2 separate regions of the Homo sapiens genome follow, and region 1 is linked to region 2. The links are contacts of gene promoters, found by promoter capture Hi-C in blood cells and fetal thymus (Javierre and others, 2016). All regions are on one chromosome and are shown on one strand. Each heading gives the region's core, a stretch centred on a gene start or on the middle of the fragment in contact. The rest is flanking DNA. Distances are from core to core; before and after follow the strand shown.

Region 1 (6,292 bases), core at 2,502-5,001, 260 kb after region 2:
AGTGAGACTCCGCCTCAAAAAACAAACAAAACAAAACAAAAATGAAATTACACAATCCAGCCAAACTGAAGGTGTGGTGTCGGAAGTTGGAAGTCACCTGGGGTGACTGGAGGGGCGCCAGGGTTCCTAAGTTCCTGGTTCCTGATGTGGGGGCTGCTTATACAAGTGTGCTTAGTTTATGAAACCACATCAAGCTGTATACATTCGATTTCTGAAATTTTCTGTATGAAATATTTACATATACATATATATGTATATATATATATTTTAGACAGTCTTGCTCTGTCACCCAGGCTAGAGTGCAGTGGCACGATCTCGGTTCACTGCAACCTCTGTCTCCCAGGTTCAAGCGATTCTCCTGCTTCAGCCTCCTGAGTAGCTGGGACTACAGGTGCATGCCACCACACCCAGCTAATTTTTGTATTTTTAGTAGAGATGGAGTTTTGCCATATTGGCCAGGCTGGTCTTAAACTGCTGACCTCAAGTAATCCGCCTGCCTTGGCCTCCCAAAGAGCTGGGATTACAGGAGTGAGCCACTGCACCCAGCCATGTATATATATATATATATATATTTTTTTTTTTTTTTTTGAGACAGAGTTTCACTCTTGTTGCCCAGGCTGGTGTGATGTCCGCTCACTGCAACCTCCACCTCCACATTCAAGCAATTCTCCTCCCTCAACCTCCCAAGTAGCTGTGATTATAGGCATGTGCCACCATGCCTAGCTAATTTTTGTATTTTTAGTAGAGACGGGGTTTCACCATGTTGGCCAGGCTGGGCTTGAACTCCTGACCTCGGGTGATCCACCTGCCTCGGCCTCCCAAAGTGCTGGGATTACAACCCAGCCATATTTTTGAGACAGGGTCTTGCTCTGCTGCCCAGGCTGAAGTGTAGCGGCAGGATCACAGCTCACTGTAGCCTTTACCTCCCCAGCTCATGTGATCCTCCCATCTCAGCCTCCCGAGTAACTGGGACCATAGGTGTGCACCACCATGCCTGGCTAATTTTTAAAAATTTGTTTGTAGAGATGAAGTCTTGCTGTATTGCCCAGCTAGTCCTGAACTCCTGGGCTCAAGCGATCCTCCCGCCTCGGCCTCTCAAAGTGCTGGGACTACAGGTTTAGTCACGGTGCCTGCCCTGAATGTTCTATTTTAAACAAGAAAACCAAACCAAACCCAACAACAAACCCATCCTTCAGAGCTTCCCTCTGTCCCCACCATTAACAGTGCCCTCAAAGTTTCGGGTGGTCAGGCCCCTGTGGGCCTCCTCCCCACCACCTTACCCCTTCTTTCCCTCTTGCCCACTTCATCCAGCCACACGCGGGCCCCAGGACACTGGCTTACACTGTTCTCTCTGCCAGGAAAACCCTCCCTGGGTAACTCCCTCTCATTTCATAGTTCCTCATCCTCATCCTCCCTCGGGAGGCTCCCAGCACTGACAGGCCTGCATTTCATGGACTTTGCTCCCAAGGCCTATTTGGGAGCGGCAATGTGGCCCAGATCATGGATGGCTGTCCTGTCCCAGGGAACTATTCTGAGAAGCTCCCGGCCCGCTCCTCACACCTCCTGCTTCTCAGAGGCTAATAATGACAGTGCCTGAGGAAACCGAGGCCAGCTGACCCCGACGAGCCCAGGCTGGGAGTGCGCACAGCAGGGCAGTGGGCCTTCTGGGCTCTTTGGTGGGTTCTGAGTCGCCATCATCTCCGGCCACACAGGCCAGCTCACGGTCCCCGCTCTACTGGCCTGGCCACTCGCAGAAAGAGCCACTCTCAGTGGGATTTCCTGGGTAATTCTCAACTCACCTCAGGGGCGCTCGTGTCACTTATCAGACACTTGCTCTAGGTCTGGTCTGGACCAGGCTCAGGATGTACCAGGCCCTGTCCTCATGTTGCCCAGGGTTTCTCCAGTGGTGGCTGTAACCACCTGTATCAGAACCACCAGAGCACATAAGAATGCAGACACCTGGGCTCCAACTCAGACCTACTGGATCAACCCAGGCCCCATTGTGACCCAGGAATCTGTGTTTTCTACAGGCTGATCTCAGCACTCCATGAATCTGAGAGCCGCTGCTGACTGGGAGGGATAGGGAGCCGATTACAGTCCAGTGAGGTCAGGGCTGAGAAAGGACAGGAAATGCAACCGTGAGAGCCCAGTACTGGCCCCTCACTTGACTGTGGAAACCTGTAAGCCGAGGAGACACCTGAACCAGATTGGGCCGGGCAAAGTAGGGCAGGAGAGGCAGTACATCCCACGCAGCAAAACAGCACATGGTGGCCAGGGGCGGTGGCTCACACCTGTAATCCCAGCACTTTGGGAGGCCGAGGTGGGCGGATCACGAGGTCAGGAGATCAAGACCATCCTGACCAACACGGTGAAACCCCGTCTCTACGAAAAGTACGAAAATTAGCCGGGCGTGCCACTGCACTCCAGCCTGGGCAACAGAGCGAGACTCCGTCTCAAAAAAAAAAAAAAAAAATTAGCTGGGCATGGCGGCTCACGCTTGTAATCTCAGCATTTTGGGAGCCGAGGCAGGTGGATCACCTGAGGCCAGGAGTTCGAGACCAGCCTGCCCAACATGGTAAGACCCGGTCTCTACTAAAAATGCAAAAATTAGCCGGATGCGGTGGTGCGCGCCTGTAGTCACAGCTACTCGGGAGGCTGAGACAGGAGAATCACTTGGACCCAGGAGGCTGAGCAAGATCGTTCCACTGCACTCCAGCCTGGGCCTCAGAGCAAGACCCTGTCTCAAAAAACAAACAAACAGACAAAAACAGCACATGCTAGCGGCAGGAGACAAGAGGCTGAGCCCTCCCAGCCCACCTTACCTGCACTGTAATCCAATCCAGCCAGAGACAGAGTCGGGTAGGAGAGGTGAAGGCGGGTGGGAAGGTGTGGCTGTTCACGCAGGAATGTCTTGGGAAAACTGAGGGGTAGGTGGAAAACCGACTTCTTGTTTGAAATGCTCCCAAGACGCCTCATTAAGTAGCATAGACGTGACTGAATCAATAAATCTTTATTAAATGAATGAAAGGAGGAAGGAGTCCTTAACTGTAGCTAAGCTTCCACTCTTAAGTATCAATTAAGCTTCTCTGTTCAGTCCAGCGTTTAGGGCGCCTACTGCGCGCCCCGCCCCACACACTTTTGACAAAAAGGTCGCCTGCTCTGTGTGACTTGCCCTTTCGCCGGCCAGTATGGGGCAGAGGGAAATAAGCCCCCTCTGCTCTCTGGTCTCAGTTTACTCGTAACTGAAAGTGGGTCGGTTCAAACCCCCTGGAGCTGAGGTTGCCTCTCCTCTTCGAGCACGCGCTATCGGACGCGCAGGTCCCCAAGACCGCGGATCGGCAGGGGGTACCAGGGAAGCCTTCATTCAGGGCGCAGGTCCCAGCCGAACCAAAGCTCCCACCAAAGTTCAACACGCCCCCAAAGCCAGCGCCTGATTGGCCCGCCCTGCCCACAAGCTGAGGCAGCCTCACCTTCTGATTGGCTGTTATGCTCCCTGTTCGGTGCTGGAACCCTCCCCTTCTCTGATTGGCCAGATGCCTACCTGCGCTCGCCCCAGATTGGGCGCCAGCTGGGGCGGCTCGTTGGCTCCCAGGGGCCCCGCTCTCTGATTCGCCGCTCGGGCCAGCCCCCACGGCCTGCACGCTGAATGGCTGCGCCGCTACCTATATTGGCCTCCGATTGGGTGCACGGCGCCTCCCCGGCGTGATAGGTCAGGACCACCGCCCCCCTGGCTCCCCATTGGCTGCTCGAAGAAGCCCGGTCTCCGGGTAAGATGGCAGCGGACGGACAGTGCTCGCTCCCCGCTTCATGGCGGCCGGTGACCCTCACCCACGTCGAATATCCTGCAGGTAAAAGGCGGTCCCGGCTCCAAGGACGCCTTCCCAGGGACGGCCTCTCAGTCCCGGGCGCTCCGGCCTGCTCGAGCCCGCGGAGGGGGCGCCGGGGGACCGGGGTGGGAACTGTCAAATAGTGAACCACGGAGGGGCTCGGCCGGCGCGCGCGCCGCGCAGGCGCAGTGGTGCGAGGATGAGCTGGGCGAAATTGTGAGGCGCTCGCTCGCGCACTCTGCGGCTGCGCGGCCAGGGCGCTCCCCCGGGTCCCGGGGCGCCGGTGGGCTGAAATGGGTTGAGGATCTGTGTGAGGCGAGAAAAGATCCCTGGCCTGGACCTTGGCCCTTCTTCCCCGCCCTCCCCTGTCCCAGAGAGGCCGCACTCCTGTTCCAGCGTGCAGGGAGTGTCTTGTTTCCTTCGAACAGTGCTTTGGGCTGCTTGTAAGAGAAAGAGCTCCCCGTTGCTGGGAGTGTGCAAGCCGAAGCCAGGCTTTTGAGTACTTGTGGTGCCACGCCCTGAGCAGGGCACGATTCCACAACAGAGAGGACCCGATGAGGGGGCGGGCAGCCTCCGGGAACTTGACTTCTGTTGCTTCCCATCAGACACACCTCTCGAAGTGCAGGGCTTTCCAGTTGAGAGGTCCATTAGCGGCGTTCTGGAGGCTGTCTAGTAAGAGTGGCGCAGAGCCTGGGCGTGGGGGTCAGACCCATCTGGGCTCCAGTTGAGGCTGAGGCCTTGTGCAGGTGCCTGCCTCTGCTTAAGTTAATTCATCTCTAAAGTGGGACTGATTACAGTGCTTACCTTCTGGTGATGGTATGAGCATCAAATAGCAGGAGGCACAAGAAGGGCTGAGTACAGTGCCCGGCATGCAGTAAGCGTTCAGTAAATACCTGCAGTTAATGTTATCCCACCTTGCAAGACCCTCCCTGGGTAAGATGGTTGAGTGCCAGGGAAGGCTGGAGCCCCTCATTGAGCCCTGGTTGCCTGGGAAGGGCCTGCTCATGCTGCTGTCTTGCGAGATGTGAGAACCTGGGTCCGCTGAGGGCACCAGGACTGAATGCCAAAGAACGTTGACGCTGGTGTTCTGGGTTGTACTGGGGGTGGTATGGCCCTGCCAGGTCCTGGGCCCTGCCTGCCTGCCTGTCTACCATTCATTCATCCATTCATTCATTCAGTCAATATCCACTGAACACTTCTGAGTGCTAGGCCCTGGGCTAGCTCTGGTTTTTAGAATGCTTAACAGGCCTGAAATATCCCTGCATTCCTGCACTATGAAAACCAGCTGCTTTATAAGAGGAAAGCCAAAGCCTGGAGGTGGGGAAAGACTTGCTAAGGCCTCTGCACCTTCACAGCTTCCCCTCCTGGCCTCAGAGTAGCTTCTTGGAGTGCTCACAATCCAACAAGCCAGAAGGAACCTGGCAGGCAGTTGTGTGCAGCATGATACAGGCTGTGATGGACCTGGCTGAGCCTGGAGCATCTGGTGAGGTCTAGTCCCCTATTAATGCTTCCATGGTTCCCTGCACTTCTCCGTCACACCCCTCTTCACACCGTCACTTGCTTACTTCATTCATTCAACAGTTTTTGAGCCCAGTTAAGAGCCAGGCCCTGTGCTGGGCTTGGGGGATAGAGTGGGATATAAAGAGACCCTGTCTCTACTCCCAGATGCTGTCCTGATATCTACATTAGTGGATCATGAACTGAGTCTGGATGGCAGATTCTCCCGTCAGACCTCAAGCTCTGCACTAGCAGGGACATATGTGTCTTTTTTTTTGCCACTGTGGTGGGTTCTTAGTTGTTTGTTGAGTTCACCCAGAGAGCGTCCCAGGTGGGGGGAAACTGTGTGCAAAGGTCCAGAAGTAGGACAGGGCACGATGCGCTCAGGGAACTCGAGTTTGGTCCTTGGAACTGGAGCAGAGGTTGAGAGGGAAGCAGGGCCAGGACTGTGCAGGGCCAGATGAGCTGGGCTGAGGGGGAACTTGTCCTAAGGGCAGTGGGAGGCCTGAGGGGGCTTGGATCAGAGAGTAGAGAGGCCAGAGTCCCTGGTAGCATCTTCAGGAAAACCCCAGGGTAGTGCTGGCTCTGGGACAGGCTATGGAGATGGCTAAAGCTTTGGGGGTACCAGTCACTCACTATCTTCATAGCCCAGTGCTGTGAGGGTGAGCTTCATAGTGGAGAGGCCCAGGAAAGAGAAGGGACTCACCCACTGTCACCCAGTGGGACTGTGGCAGCACCAGCACTTGACCCCAGGCACTTAGCTGGGCTGCTCTGCTCTCCCAGACCAACTCCAGGCCAGTCTGATCCTGGGTAGGATGGGCTGGGTAGGATCCTGTGTGTGGATGAGACCGGGCATGTGTGTGTCTATGTCTTCAGCCCTGGAATCTGGGCTCAGCCCTCTGTGGACAACTTCCCTGCTGCTTGTGTGAGGCTGGTGGCATGGACCATTTCCCACACTGGGTTCTCTC
Region 2 (6,934 bases), core at 4,366-6,865:
AGCAGAGATGGGGTTTCACCATGTTGACCAGGCTGGTCTTGAACTTCTGACCTCAGGTGATCCGCCCACCTCAGCCTCCCAAAGTGCTGGGATTACAGGCGTGAGCCACCACACCCAGCTGTATTTGTGTTTTAAGCTAACTGTTACTACAAAAGAGTCCAAAAGTTTAAAAAAATTAGAACATTTGTAGGCCAGGCACGGTGGCACGCCTGTAATCCCAGCACTTCGGGAGGCCTAGGTGGGCAGATCACGAGGTCAGGAGATGGAGACAATCCTGGCCAACATGGTGAAACCCCATCTCTACTAAAAATACAAAAGTTAGCTGGGTGTGGTGATGCCCGCCTCTATTCCCAGCTACTCGGGAGGCTGAGGCAGGAGAATCGCTTGAACCTGGGAGGCGGAGATTTCAGTGACCAGAGATGGCACCACTGTACTTCAGCTTGGTGACAGAGTGAGACTCTGTCTCAAAAAAAAAAATAAAATAAATAAAATAAAAATACAAAAATTAGCTAGGCGTGGTGGCAGGCACCTGTAATCCCAGCTACTCACTTGGAGACTGAGGCAGCAGAATCACTTGAACCTGGGAGGTGGAGGTTGCAGTGAGCTGAGATTGTGCCACTGCACTCTGGCCTGGGTAACAGAGTGAGACTCTGTCTCAAAATAAATAAATAAATAAATAAATAAATAAATAAAAACTCGTAAAGTAAAAGTTACAGTGGCTGGGCGCGGTGGCTCACACCTGTAATCCCAGCACTTTGGGAGCCCAAGGCGTGCAGATCACGAGTTCAGGAGATCGAGACCATCCTGGCTAACACAGTGAAACCCCGTCTCTACTAAAAATACAAAAAATTAGCCAGGTGTGGTGGCGGGCGCCTGTAGTCCCAGCTACTCGGGAGGCTGAGGCAGGAGAATGGCGTGAGCCCAGGAGGCGGAGCTTGCAGTGAGCCAAGATCGCGCCACTGCACTCCAGCCTGGGCAACAGAGCAAGATTCCGCCTAAAAAAAAAAAAAAAAGTAAAAGTTACAGTAAGCTAAGGTTTATTATTGAAGAAAGAAGTATTTCAAATAAATTTAGTGTAGCCTAAATATAGTGTTGATAAAGTCTACAGTAGCGTAGAGTAGACTTTGTTCTGGGCCTTCACATTCACTCCTCAGTGACCCACGCAGAGCAACTTCCTGTCCCAGAAGCTCCATTCATGGTAAGCGCTTTATACAGACAGGTGTATCATTCTTTATTTTTTATTATTATTACTTTTTTTTTTGAGACAAGAGTTTCTCTCTGTCACCCAGGCTTGAGTGCAGTGACACTACCTCGGCTCACTGCAACCTCTGCCTCCCGGGTTCAAGCAATTCTCCTGCCTCAGCCTCCCCAGTAGCTGGGAATACAGGTGTGTGCCACCACACCCGGCTAATTTTTGTATTTTTAGTATACACAGTGTTTCACCGTGTTGGCCAGGCTGGTCTTGAACTCCTGACATTGTGATCCACCTGCCTCGGCCTCCCAAAGTGCTGGGATTACAGGTGTGAGCCACCTAGCCTGGCATACTTTTTTTGGTTTGTTTTTTTTTTTGAGATAGAGTCTCGCTCTGTCGCCCAGGCTGGAGTGCAGTGGCACGATCTCAGCTCACTGCAACCTCAGCCTCCGGGGTACAAGGAATTCTCATGCCTCAGCATCCCAGGGTAGCTTGGATTACATATCTTTATGTGATGCATGATTATATTTGCAAACCATACATCTGATAAGGGGTTAATATCCAAGATATATAAGTACTTAAAACATCTCAGTAGCAGCTGGGCATGGTGGCTCATGCCTGTAATTCAAGCACTTTGGGAGGCGGAGGCGGGTGGATCACCTGAGGTCCGGAGTTCAAGACCAGCCTGGCCAATATGGTGAAACCCAGTCTCTACTAAAACTACAAAAATATTAGCCAGGAGTGGTGGTGGGTGCCTGTAATCCCAGCTACCCAGGAGGCTGAGGCACAAGAATCACTTGAACCCAGAGGCGGAGGTTGCAGTGAGCCGAGATCGTGCCACTGCACTCCAGCCTGGGTGACAGAGCAGGACTCTGTCTAAAAAACAAAAACAGAAACAAACAAAAATCTCAATAGCAAGAAAACAATGTGATTTAAACAACACGCAAAGGACCTGAATAGATATTTCTCAAAAGAAGACATACAGCACTTTGGGAGGCTGAGGCAGGCGAATCGCCAGGTGAAGAGATCAAGACCATCCTGGCCAACATGGTGAAACCCCGTCTCTACTAAAAATACAAAAATTAGATGGGCATAGTGGTGTGTGCTTGAACCCAGGAGGCGGAGGTTGCAGTGAGCCGAGATCGAGCCACTGCACTCCAGCCTGGTGACAGAGCCAGACTCTGTCTCAAAAAAAAATAAAAAAAGACATAAAAATTTCTGGCAACTATCTGAAAAAATGCTGAACAATGCATGGATCATCTGGGAAATGCAAATTAAAACCAAAATGAGATACCACCTCACACCTGTCAGAATGGCTTATAAAAAAAAGACAAGGCCGGGCGTGGTGGCTAACGCCTGTAATCCCAGCACTTTGGGAGGCTGAGGCAGGTGGATCACGAGGTCAGGAGTTCAAGACCAGTCTGGCCAACATAGTGAAACCCCATCTCTACTAAAAATACAACAAAATTAGCCGAGCGTGGTGGTGTGCACCTGTAATCCCAGCTACTCAGGAGGCTGAGGCAAGAGAATTGCGTCAACCTGGGAGGGGGAGGTTGCAGTGAGCCAAGATTGTGCCATTGCACTCCAGCCCAGGCAACAGTGCGAGATTCACCCTCAAAAAAAAAAGGAGATTCTGTCATTTGTGACAACATGGAAGAACCTAGAGGACGTTACGGTAGGTGAAATAAGCCAGGCACAGAAAGACAAACACGACATGGTTTCACTTATATTCGGAATGTAAAACAACTCATAGAGGTGGAGAGTAGAATGATGGTACCAGAGTCTGGGGATTGGTGGGAGTTGGGGCGGTGGGGAATGGGGAAATGTTGGTCAAAGGGTACAGTTTCAGCTAGACAGGAGGATTTTTTTTTTTTTAATTTGAGACGGGGGTCTTACTATGTTGCCCAGGCTGGTCTTGAACTCCTTGGTTCAAGCAATCCTCCCACCTTGGCCTCCAAAAGGGCTATGATTACAGGCCTAAGCCACCATACCCGGCCCAGGAATGTTTTTTTTTTAGAACTATAGCATGGTATGGCCAGGTGCGATGGCTCACACCTGTAATCCCAGCACTTTGGGAGACTGAGGTGGGTGGATCATCTGAGGTCGGGAGTTCGAGACCAGCCTGACCAGCATGGAGAAACCCTGTCTCTACTAAAAATACAAAAAATTAGCTGGGGATGGTGACACATGCCTGTAATCCCAGCTACTCGGGAGGCTGAGGCAGGAGAATCACTTGAACCTGGGAGGCAGAGGTTGTGGTGAGCCGAGATCACGCCATTGCACCCCAGCCTGGGCAACAAGAGCAAAACTCTGTCTCCAAAAAAAAAAAACACAAACTACAGCATGGTCACTATAGTTAATGTATATTTCAAAATTGCTGAAAGTAGCTGGGTATGGTGATACACCATAGCCTGTAGTCCCATTTACTCAGGAGGCTGAGGCCCACAGATCACTTGATCCCAGGAGGTCAAGAACAGCCTGGGCAACAAAGCAAGACCCTGTCCCATATTTTTTTTTGAAGCAGAGTCTCACTCTGTTGCCCAGGCTGGAGTGCAGTGGCATGATCTCGGCTCACTGCAACCTCCGCCCTCCAGGTTCAAGCAATCCTCTTGCCTCAGTCCCCCAGTAGGTGGGATTACAGGCACGGTCCACTATGCCCAGCTAATTTTTGTATTTTTAGTAGAGACAGGGTTTCGCCATGTTGGCCAGGCTGGTCTCAAACTACTGACCTCAGGAGGGCTTAGTGGCTCATGCCTGTAACTTTGGGAGGCCAAGGCAGGAGGATCACTGGAGGCCAGGAGTTCAAGACCAGCCTGGACAACATAGCGAGGCCCCATCTCTATAAAAAATTTAAAAGTTAGCCAGGCATCATGATATGTGTCTGTGGTCCTAGCTACTCGGGAGGGTGAGGCAGGAGGATGGCTTGAGCCCAGGAGGTCAAGGCTGCAGTGAACTGTGATCTTGCCACTGCACTCCGTGTGGGTGACAGCACAAGACCTTATTTTCCTTAAAGGAAAAAAAAATGCTAAGAGTGGCTGGGTTGGGTGGCCCATGTCTATAACCCCAGCACTTTGGGAGGCCAAGGTGGGTGGATCACAAGGTCAGGAGTTAGTTCGAGACCAGCCTGGCCAACATGGTGAAACCCATTCTTTACTAAAAGTACAAAAATTAGCTGGGCGTGGTGGCGCGCGCCTGTAGTCCCAGCTACTCAGGAGGCCGAGGCACGAGAATCGCTTGAACCAAGGAGGCGGAGGTTGCAGTGAGCCTGGGCGACAGAGCGAGACTCCGTCTCAAAAAAAAAAAAAAATTAGCTGGGCCTGGTGGTGCGCGCCTGTAATCCCAGCTACTTCAGAGGCTGAGGCAGGAGAATCACTTGAACCTGGGAGGCAGAGGTTCCACTGCGCGGAGATCACGCCATTGCACTCCAGCCTGGGCAATAGAGTGAGACTCCGTCTCAAAAAATAAAAGTCCTTAACCAGTCCATATTTCTGAATATTTTGCTTATTCCTGCCGGCAGTGTAATACTCTGGTGAATATTTGCGTTCGAGATCCTTGCATTCCCGAGATTTCCCCAGCTCAGCCCTCTGCGTGGGTTGAACGGTATGAACCTTTTTAAGGCTTCGCTTGTACTGTACTGTCAAGCTGTTTTTTGGAATATTCGCCCCAGGTTTCTGTTCCAGCCAGCAGCCAGCATCAGCCGTCTGCATCCTTGTCCTCAAACTGCTGTTAATTAAAATCTTTGCCAATCTGGGCCGGGCGCGGTGGCTCACGCCTGTAATGCCAACACTTTGGGAGGCCGAGGCCGGCGGATCGCCTGAGGTCGGGAGTTTGAGACCAGCCTGACCAACATGGAGAAACCCTGTCTCTACTAAAGATACAAAATTAGCCGGGCGTGGTGGCGCATGCCTGTAATCCCAGCTACTTGGGAGGCTGAAGCAGGAGAATCGCTTGAACCTGTGAGGCGGAGGTTGCAGTGAGCCGAGATCACGCCATTGCACTCGAGTCTGGGCGACCAGAGCGAAACTCCGTCTCAAAAAAAAAAAAAAAAAAAAAGAAACCTTTGCCAATCTGGTAGAATTGCGGGGCTTATTTTATGGTGTCATGGAGGATAGCCTAGGGCCAGATATACCTGGGGCCCTGTGCCTGCTCTGCGAACTAGGAGCTCACTCTCCGAGCGGTGTAGAGGGTGAGACTAAGCAGTGACAGTAAAAGCTTTCGACAGTGCTTGACCCTTCCGCGGAGCGTATTAAGCAGGAGCTCCCTGCGCAGGCGCAGAGGAGAGAGTGTCTCCCACCCCACGACCAGCAGGGGGCCTGCGAGGCGGGTGCGGAGCCAGGCCTGATGGTGGCCAATCGCGAGCTGAGGCGACGATGCCACGCCCCTCATACCGGCGTCTTAAATGCGCAAAGAAAGGACGCCGGGGACACCCGGTTGGGCTCTGCTGCTCCCTTCTGGGTTCCGAGGCCCAAGCCCTTGGCAGTGTTTGTGAGTGGAAGGGAGGTCACGCTATCGTCCGCGGCCCCAGCAGCCCTGTGCCCTCGTTGGATCCCGCGACGCGGCTCCTTTAAGAGCCTCGCGGGTCGCCCGCCGCTAGGTCGCTCCCCGGCCATGCGGGCGCTGCGGGCCGGCCTGACCCTGGCGTCGGGCGCGGGGCTGGGTGCGGTCGTCGAGGGCTGGCGGCGGCGGCGGGAGGACGCGCGGGCGGCGCCGGGACTGCTGGGCCGGCTGCCCGTGCTGCCCGTGGCGGCGGCAGCCGAGTTGCCCCCTGTGCCCGGGGGACCCCGCGGCCCGGGCGAGCTGGCCAAGTACGGGCTGCCGGGGCTGGCGCAGCTCAAGAGCCGCGAGTCGTACGTGCTGTGCTACGACCCGCGCACCCGCGGCGCGCTCTGGGTGGTGGAGCAGCTGCGACCCGAGCGTCTCCGCGGCGACGGCGACCGGCGCGAGTGCGACTTCCGCGAGGACGACTCGGTGCACGCGTACCACCGTGCCACCAACGCCGACTACCGCGGCAGTGGCTTCGACCGCGGTCACCTGGCCGCCGCCGCCAACCACCGCTGGAGCCAGAAGGCCATGGACGACACGTTCTACCTGAGCAACGTCGCGCCCCAGGTAGCGCCCGCGCCCCGGGCCGGTCGCGGAATGCGGGGCCGGCGCCTGGCCTCGCGGGGCCTCGGTTTGTTCTTCTGCAGAACGGGGCAGCTGCCCAACGCGCCCCCGGTCAGGCATCGCAGTGACATCCCGTGGCGGGAGGGAGGAGCACTGGGCTCCAGGCACAGGGTCTGCAGGCCGACCAGGGCTTGAGCTTCAACTGCGAACCCTGGGCACCTCCCTGAGCGTCGCTTTCCTCGTCAAAAAAATGGGGATAATACCGTTATTCACCTTCCTCCTGCGGTAGTGATGAGGCGCTGAGGCTCACAGAGGCAAAGTGACGGGCACAGTGTCACACAGCAGAAGAAGGCTGTCTGTTGTAGAACCGCAGCGCCCAACCTATTGGGCACCAGGGTGCGGTTTCGTGGAAGACAGTTTTTCCACGGCTTGGTGGGTGAGGGCGGGTTTCAGGATAATTCAAGTGCGTTACATTTATGTACATTTTATTTCTATTATTATTACATTGTAACATATAGTGAAATATACAACTCACAGTAATGTAGGATCCGTGGGAGCCCTGAGCTTGTTTTCCTGCAACTAGACAGTCCTATCTGGAGGTGATGGGCAACAACGACAGATCAGGCATTAGGTTTT

The links. Contacts are between HindIII fragments. The CHiCAGO score rates a contact against its expected background, and 5 or more counts as called.
Region 1: a contact is called between the fragment with the promoter of DOLPP1 here and the fragment with the promoter of ENDOG in region 2, in 3 of 17 cell types (endothelial precursors, fetal thymus and M0 macrophages). The highest score is 7.7, in endothelial precursors.

Annotation. Positions count from the first base shown.
Region 1 is chr9:129,077,360-129,083,651 of GRCh38, forward strand. It overlaps DOLPP1 (dolichyldiphosphatase 1), which reads left to right and starts at 3,752. Exons shown (of 8, transcript NM_020438.5): 1 at 3,752-3,848. The coding sequence starts at 3,773. RefSeq lists a silencer at 3,450-4,179. The HindIII fragment of the contact is 2,856 bases long and covers 3,080-5,935 here.
Region 2 is chr9:128,812,885-128,819,818 of GRCh38, forward strand. ENDOG (endonuclease G) reads left to right here and starts at 5,616. Exons shown (of 3, transcript NM_004435.2): 1 at 5,616-6,301. The coding sequence starts at 5,801. KYAT1-SPOUT1 (KYAT1-SPOUT1 readthrough) reads right to left here. Exons shown (of 25, transcript NR_182311.1): 25 at 6,767-6,934. It overlaps SPOUT1 (SPOUT domain containing methyltransferase 1), which reads right to left. Exons shown (of 12, transcript NM_016390.4): 12 at 6,767-6,934. RefSeq lists a silencer at 5,850-5,909 and enhancers at 6,014-6,579, 6,530-6,619. The HindIII fragment of the contact is 1,677 bases long and covers 5,403-6,934 here.